Regions from separate parts of the Homo sapiens genome. Here region 1 is linked to region 2. Evidence: promoter capture Hi-C in 16 types of primary human blood cells and fetal thymus (Javierre and others, 2016). All regions are on one chromosome and are shown on one strand. Each heading gives the region's core, a stretch centred on a gene start or on the middle of the fragment in contact. The rest is flanking DNA. Distances are from core to core; before and after follow the strand shown. Region 1 overlaps ZBP1 (Z-DNA binding protein 1). Region 2 holds the start of PRELID3B (PRELI domain containing 3B).

What was found. Contacts are between HindIII fragments. The CHiCAGO score rates a contact against its expected background, and 5 or more counts as called.
Region 1: a contact is called between a fragment that was not itself captured here and the fragment with the promoter of PRELID3B in region 2, in 1 of 17 cell types (total CD8 T cells). The highest score is 6.4, in total CD8 T cells.

Annotation. Positions count from the first base shown.
Region 1 is chr20:57,613,711-57,617,854 of GRCh38, reverse strand. It overlaps ZBP1 (Z-DNA binding protein 1), which reads left to right. Exons shown (of 8, transcript NM_030776.3): 2 at 1,387-1,611; 3 at 2,275-2,343; 4 at 2,795-2,968. Among named protein-coding and RNA genes, the nearest start is that of ZBP1, 4.6 kb to the left of the region's middle. The HindIII fragment of the contact is 3,446 bases long and covers 1-3,076 here.
Region 2 is chr20:59,040,918-59,044,673 of GRCh38, reverse strand. PRELID3B (PRELI domain containing 3B) reads left to right here and starts at 1,888. Exons shown (of 6, transcript NM_016045.3): 1 at 1,888-1,975. The coding sequence starts at 1,944. It overlaps SLMO2-ATP5E (SLMO2-ATP5E readthrough), which reads left to right and starts at 1,828. Exons shown (of 6, transcript NR_037930.1): 1 at 1,828-1,975. RefSeq lists a silencer at 1,571-1,970. The HindIII fragment of the contact is 2,130 bases long and covers 1,220-3,349 here.

The sequences.
Region 1 (4,144 bases), core at 104-2,603, 1.4 Mb after region 2:
CCAGAGATGGGGTCTTGTCCAGGCTGGAGTGCAGTGGTGCATTCATAGCTCACTGCAACTGCTACCTCCTAGATTCAAGCGATCCTCCCACTTTTAGCCTCTTAAGCAGCTGGGACTACAGGCATATGCCATCGTACCTACCTGATTTTTCTCTTTTTTTGTAGAGATGGGGGTCTCACTATGTTGCCCAGGCTGGTCTAGAACTCCTGGCCTCTAGGGGTCCTCCCATCTCAGCCTTCTGATGTGCTAGGATTACAAGTGTGAGCCACCACTCCTGGCCCCATTCATTCATTCATTCATTCACTCAGTCACTCATACATTCAACTGCCATTTCCTGAGCACCTACTGTGTGCCCAGCACTGTGCTAGATGCTGAAGGTACAACAGTGAGCCATGCAAGCACAGCAGGGGACACTAGGGGAAGTTCTGCAGGGGACCCACACACAAGCAGCGTCCCAGCCACTCTGGGACACAGAGACAGGCTTTCCCTAGGAAGTGGCATCTGAGGAGGCCTGGAGGTTGAGTAGACATCATACAGGTTGGGGCGTGAGGGAAGGGTGCTCCTGGCAGCAGGAACAGTGTGCACAAAGGGGCTGGGGAGAGTGGGGCTGAAGGGAGCACAGACAGGCCAGCACTTGGAGGGAAGTTGGGGGCAGGTGCAGGCCAAGCTGGGTGGTTGGCAGAGCCAGATCTGGAGGGTACCTGACTGGAGCTGGCGGGCCAACGGGGAGCCTATCACTGTACCTAGGAGATGGTGAAGAGGAAGGGGGTGGTGCTGGCAGAAAAGAGAGGAGTGGGGGGATTCCAGAGAATCCAGGAATGGCATTTCCAGGGCTCCACGACTGGGCACTGGGGGAAAGGTCTGTTTCTGATGTCTGGTCGGTCTCTGGCTTGGATGGATAGTGGCGCCATGGATGGATGGTGAGCTGAGAGGAGGGCACTCCCGGGGAGGATGGCGATGGGCATCAGGTAAACCCAGGCAGGCGTCCCAGGCAGGACTTGCCTTTGCGCTCCCAGGTCCCCCTGCCTCCCTCTGGCTCCGTCCTTCTGCCCTCTACTCCCCTCTGCCCTGAGGACACCTGAGAGCTGAGGAACCCCACTGCCCTCTGGAACCCACACCCGGGGAGGGCACAGGCGAGGTGGCACCTCCCCTGGCCACCAGGCTGCGCAGCCAAGGCCGTTTCTGATCAGCCTGCATGCCTCCCTCTGGGCAGATGCAGCTGCCCTACTGCTCTTAGGGGGCATCTGCTGGGGTCCTTGCCCTTTCCTCTGCCCTGGACCCCTCTCAAAAAGGGGCCTACGTGCCTCCTGGAGCCTCCAGCCTGGGCTCAACTGTGGGGACCTGGGAGACTCAGTTCCCCTCTCTGTCCCCCGCTCGCTCCCCCAGGCCACCTTGAACAAAGAATCCTGCAGGTGCTGACAGAGGCTGGCTCCCCGGTGAAACTTGCCCAGCTGGTGAAGGAATGCCAAGCACCCAAGAGGGAGCTCAACCAAGTCCTCTACCGAATGAAAAAGGAGTTGAAAGTCTCCCTCACATCCCCTGCCACCTGGTGCTTGGGCGGGACTGATCCTGAAGGCGAGGGTCCTGCAGAGCTGGCCTTGTCCAGCCCTGGTAACTGCCACCCCGGGGAGGCGGGTCTGACCCTGCAGGGAGCATCCTGGCAATGGACAAGCACAGATTTGAGCCTGGGTTCGAATCTGAACTCTGCCACATGGGAGCTCACAGGTTTCCTCTCTCTGTGCCTTGGTTTCTTTTTCTGGTTGATGGAGCTCACAGCAGGGCTGCTTGGTAGGGGTTGCTGAGAGGAGGCCCTGCGTCAGGCTCAGCCCAGCCCTGCACACAGGAGGTACTCTGCAGAACACTAACAATTATAATAGAAAATCATCATGATGGAGACAGCAATGACGCCATGGTCCCAATCACAGAACATATGCAGTCCCACCAGCCCCCCTTTTCTAGCTTTACAGCCCACAGCCAGAAGGAGCTGCCATTTATCATGCACTTAAGATTAGCCAGGCACTGTTTTGGGGTTCACCCAGCCCTCACACAACCCCAGGAGGCAAAGGAGGCTGAGCCCCGGAGAAGTTAATCGGCAGGAAGCCGCAGCTGCCAGGGCGCAGGCAGGATTTGAAGTCAAGTGTGTTGAACTCTGGAGTCTGAGTTTGCAACTACCGGCATTGCCACTTACCCCTAGGGAGCTGCCCACCTTTGTGGGGTGGAGGCCTGGTGCTGTCTTCTGTCCCCCACCCCTCTGACCCATCTTTCTTTCTGCAGCCGAGAGGCCCCAGCAACATGCAGCTACAATTCCAGAGACCCCTGGCCCTCAGTTCAGCCAACAACGGGGTAAGTTTTTGCATGTCCCTTCAGTTCCCGGGACACAGGATCCCACTCCCCAGGAACCCCAGGCCCTCCTTGAGGGTACAAGATCTCACCAGTGTTCAGGGGCCCTGTCCCACCCACCAGGCAGCTCCCATACAGTGTTCAGAGCCAAGACCCAGCCCTCACAGTGGGAGAATCTGAATGGCTGAGCAGTGATTTCTCCAGTCAGACAATAGCTGACCCTCACCATGCACCCGCCACATGCCAGGCCCAGCGCAGAGCACTCTGTGCACATCCCCCACCCTCAGGGCACCTCTGCGGTGCGTCATGATGACCCCGTTATCATGACACCCATTTTACAGATGAGGAAACCAGGCCTTGAGGGGCTGGGTCCAGGGCCACACAGCTAGGAAGCGGTGGGGCAGATGCAAACCCTAGGACTACTCCCTAACCACCTGGCCATCCTGCCTCCCAGAGGAAGACATCTACAGGTTTCTCAAAGACAATGGTCCCCAGAGGGCCCTGGTCATCGCCCAAGCACTGGGAATGAGGACAGCAAAAGATGTGAACCGAGACTTGTACAGGATGAAGAGCAGGCACCTTCTGGACATGGATGAGCAGTCCAAAGCATGGACGATTTACCGCCCAGGTAGGCCCCCGGCTGCCTGTGTCTGGGCTGCAGAGGGAAACCATGACACTAGTGCTTGGTCTTTGCTGGGTGCTCTGCTGAGCAGCTCACCGGAAACTGCTAGAAGCTTCTGGAGGTCCTACCGACAATTCACTGCAAGGGCTTCCAGGAGGAAGGGGTGTGCTGGCAAGATTAACCAGGGACAGCTTTTTGGAGGCGTGGCCCAAGGTCTGCAGTTGCAGAAGGCCAGTGAATGGGACGGAGGTGGCCCATTCCCAATGTTCTCAGCTCTGGGGTGCAGGGATCAGTCTGAGTTTGGGAATGGTTTTCTTTGAGCACTTTGCTCAAGTTGGGGTTTAAAAGTTGGCAGAAGAGAAGGCAAGACTAGTCTTGGACCCCTACCGGCTGGAGCCCCAGGGTCAGCGCAGGGTCAGCTTCCCCGTGAGACCTAACACACACAGGGCCAAGATCCAATAGGTGCATGGCATTCTCAGGGGTCCTTGAAAATGTTTTAATTTTAATTTCATTTAAAATCAGAGGAAATGAATACTACAATAATAATGAATATCTAAAAATGGGCCAGGCACGGTTGCTCACGCCTGTAATCCTAGCACTTTGGGAGGCTGAGGCGGGCAGATCACCTGAGGTCAGGAGTGACCAGTCTGGCCAACATGGCGAAACCCCGTCTCTACTAAAAATACAAAAATTAGCCAGGTGTGGTGGTGGGCGCCTGTAATCCCAGCTACTCGGGAGGCTGAGGTAAGAGAATAGCTTGAACCTAGGAGGCAGAGGTTGCACTGAGCTGAGATCGCGCCATTGCACTCCAGCCTGGGCAACAAAAGCAAAACTCTGTCCCCCAAAAAATAAAATAAAATAAAATTTAAAAATCCAGCCTGGGTTATCCTTGCTATACAATGTAATTTAAATATTTGTGTATGGGGGAAGGGCCCACAAAGGCACAGGAGCTGAGACCCTGGAGGGTGGTGATGGGCCCCGCACAGTCTGGGCAGGTGCCTGCCTCAACCTCTGCAGGGCTGACTCTGCTACTCATGACGGGTGCCCGAGGGGGTCTCAGCATCCTAGGGCTGCTGTGAGGAAGGAATAACGCGTGACAGCCACCAGATTTTAAACACTAGTGACAAATTCAAATATTGAAAATGTCATGGGAGCCAAACACGACCGATCTGGCCCAATGGG
Region 2 (3,756 bases), core at 639-3,138:
ACTCTAGATCTAGTAAGTAAAATTAGACTGATATAGTATGTGTGTTGGGGGCACGGGAGATAGGTGTCATTTAATTTTCATGACTAAAACACAGAAATTTTGAACTTGAGAGCAGAATAATGTTCTCTAAAATAAACAGAACAGGAATGCTGAATGGTGAACAGCCTCATGGAACTCCAGGAATAGCAGGGACAGGCTGTTCTGTGCTGATGGTTCTTGAACCAGTGTTTTTAACACCCAGCGACGTTAACTGCATCTTAGTCAAGGCTGAGGTACTCTCAGTAGCCCTTAAAGCATTACCTCCCCAAGAAATCACTCTTAAGTACTGTAGGTTTAAAAAAAGAAAATCTCAGGTACCACAAATTGCACTTAGCAACTACCCAACCATATTATTTCCTTCCTGTCTAATGTAATTTTTGTTTTCCTGTATAAAGGACTTATGTTATTTTGAAAAATTATCCTCCCTCCTAAATTAACCTGGCTTTTTGTCTTTAACAATCAAACAAGCTAAGAACAAGAATGAGGTGGTCCTTCTAACAAGCTTCTAAGTAACTAGATGTAAAGATTTTCCTCCATAACCTTCATTGAAAATGGCAAATTGTTCTGTTAGGAGGTAGACGGCTGTGGAGAGTGCAGGAGAGCAGGGTGGGAAGCCATATTCTGAAAGCTAAGCCAGGCAGTCTGTTCCCTGGACAAGGCTCATCTCTGAATGAAACCACATGCCACCTCCTCCTGCCCCAGCAATTCTTAGTCATTCTTTCATCCATTGATGCAACAAATAATTGTCATTTAGGAAGGGGGAAATCACTGAACAAGTCTGGCAAGAGCCTCGCCCTCAGGGGCTTACAGTCTAGCGGAAGTTACAACAAATAAACTAGATGACTCCATTAATTCATTCATCCCACAAATAGCTATTGATTTTTTTCATTTTTCAATAAGTAGTCATTGAGCCTTGACTATATGGGAGACACTGAGGATGATTTTTGAGCAAGACCGGCAAGATTCTTGCCTTCAAGAACTCAGTTCGATTGTGAATTTTCACAAATAAATTAACAAGATGATGTCAGAGGGGTAAGTGCTATAAAAAATGCAACAGGATATTGTGACGGAGCAGAGCAACAAGGTGAGAAACGGTGACGAGGGAAGTCTCTCTGGGAGAGACATCTCAGCTCAGATCCATCCTATGCACCTAGGGCAAGGTGTGCCCGGCCAGGAAGCTTTTCTACCCGACCCCTGGCACCGTGCTTCCGGACCGCATCCCTCGTAGGGGTATTATTCATGGGCAGGTCTGATGTTAGCTTCTCCGCGTCACGCCTTATTTATCCCCTCCGAGGGCTGCAAGCTCCTGGCGGGCAGGTGGGACTGGCCCAGCTGATCGGCTGGGTGGCTGGTGGATTTGGGAAAACAGCCCGGGCTGACCCAGGAGGTGGCTGGAACTCTCTATAGGGCACCAGGAAATTTTGCACAAGTGACCACCACAACGAACATCTATGTCAGCAGGCTGACCGCATGCGTCCACACGCCTCGAAATGCCAGGCGAGGATGTGCTGGGCCAGAAGGACAAGGAGGGCCAAGCGGGCGCGCAGGCACCTCCTGGACCTGACCCAACTCTGCCCAGAGGTCAAGGCTCGCTACAAGCCCGCCGCGCCTGCGCAGCACAGCGCCCGCGCCGGCCCCTCCAGCTGCCGTCGGCGGCACTGCGCCGGCGCGATGCGCCCGGCGCTAAGAGGCGGGGTTTCCTTGCGCCGCGCGCAAGGCTGGGGCAAAACCCGGGCCGGGATAGGGCGTGGGGCCGCGCGTCTGGACGTCCCTCGCGTCGGGCCCGACAGCGCCTGCGCACTGCGCCGCCGGCTGGGGTGCTGGGGGCGGGGCAGGGGCAGGTGTAGCCTCTGTGCCTCGTTGTCCCCTGGCGCTACCCGGACATCTCTCAGGGTGCCGGCACCATGAAGATCTGGACTTCGGAGCACGTCTTTGAGTAAGTTTGGGGCGCGGGTCGGCTCCGTGGAGGGCAGGCACGCCGGCCCTGGAGTAGAGGCGAGGCAGAGGCGGCCCGCAGGAGGCTTCTAGGCGTCGGGCCTAGCGAGGGGAGCGAACTCTGAAGCCTGCGGGCCCCGGCGACACGGAGGGCAGACCAAGGTCACGACCCCGAGGCGCCCTAGCCGAGGGGACGGCTCCGACCTCCAGACCCAGGCGGCCTTGCGACCGGCAGGGCTACGGGGTCACTTCCGGGCTGTCCCCCACCATGAGGTAGCCTCGGGCCGGCGGCCTCCTGAGGTCCTGGGGGCGTCGCGGAGCACGAAGCCCTTGACAGCACTCAGGGTTGCCCCATCCCGCCCTGTGAAACCACTTTGGGACGTGGACCCGAGGATCCCAAGAGGGAGGTGTTGGTTTTCTCCAGAGTGTACTTTCCCTGGCCGCCGTTTGGGTGGAGTTTCTACCTTCGAATGTGAATTTCGGGTGAACTCTGACCACCAGGATGTGAAGCCTTTTCACAACTCGTTCATCTACGCAGCAGAGCCTTGGATTTGGAATTCAAGGTCTAGCTCTGGCTGTAACAAGCGTGTGACCCTGGGTTACCCATTTTCATCTGAGAGATGGAAAAGGACGATCGTCAGGGCCTACCCGTGTTAGCTCTTTGAGGCCACGTTCAGGAACATCTTTTTGGATAATGTGAACTGTTTACTAACGAAACTAAGCCTTGAACCAGTTGGATGTGGAGAATTATATTCTCTTCTAGGTCCCTGATTCCATTTACAAAAGAGCCACAAATTTAAGCAGCGAAATCCTTTTTTTTCCCGAGTTACCTGCTCTGTTCCGCTGATCTTAATGTCGTTGCCACACTGTTTTAATTAGTATAGCCTTGTAAATAAATATGCTACAAAGCCATTTATGTTTTTAAAACTGTCTCTGAAGGCAAATTTTTTTTAAATTTCTTTTTTGAGGCAGAGTCTCGCTCTGTTGCCCAGGCTGGAGAGTAGTGGCGTGTTCTTGGCTCACTGCAACCTCCGTCTCCCGTGTTCAAACGATTCTCCTGCCTTGGCCTCCCAAGTAGCTGGGATTACAGGCGCCCACCACCGCGCCCGGCTAATTTTTGTATTTTTAGTAGAGACGGAGTTTCACCATGTTGGTCAGGTTGGTCTCAAAGTGATTCGCCCTGGTCAGGTCGCACCTGACCTCAGGTGATTCGCCCGCCTTGGCCTCCCAAAGTGCCGGGATTACAGGTGTGGGCCACTGTGCCCGGCCTCTGAAGGCAACTTTTAAAACGTTGTCCGCATTTGTACTCAGTGGGACACATCCTAGGGCCTGCTGTATCCTGCAAAGTATAGAATACTGGAATCAGAAGGAAGCTTTCTTTTCCCCCTACTGTTTAGTCTTTTTGGGAGGAAAAAGACCCGAAATTTGTGGTCATTTAGATGTTCATTAACCTGGTCGCATTCATCACTAGTCCATTTCAGCTCCGAGGATGTTTAATTTCAGTCCTCTTCCAGGTTTGCATGCTTCAGTCCTCTTCTGGGTTTGCATGCTTCAGAGGTTCTCGGCACTCAGTCTCCCTAGAACTGTCTTCTCCCATATCTTCCCTAACTCTTCTTCCTGGCTCATCCCCTCCTTCCCTCTACACTCTTTCTGCCTTTGTCTTCAGCGCTTCCCTGTCTTTTCCCATTCAGTGTAAATGTTCAGTGAGATTCTGTGTTGGCCTTCCTATATTGGATTTTACCTGTGATCTTAATTTCTTTTTTGTTTCTCTTTTCGTCACAG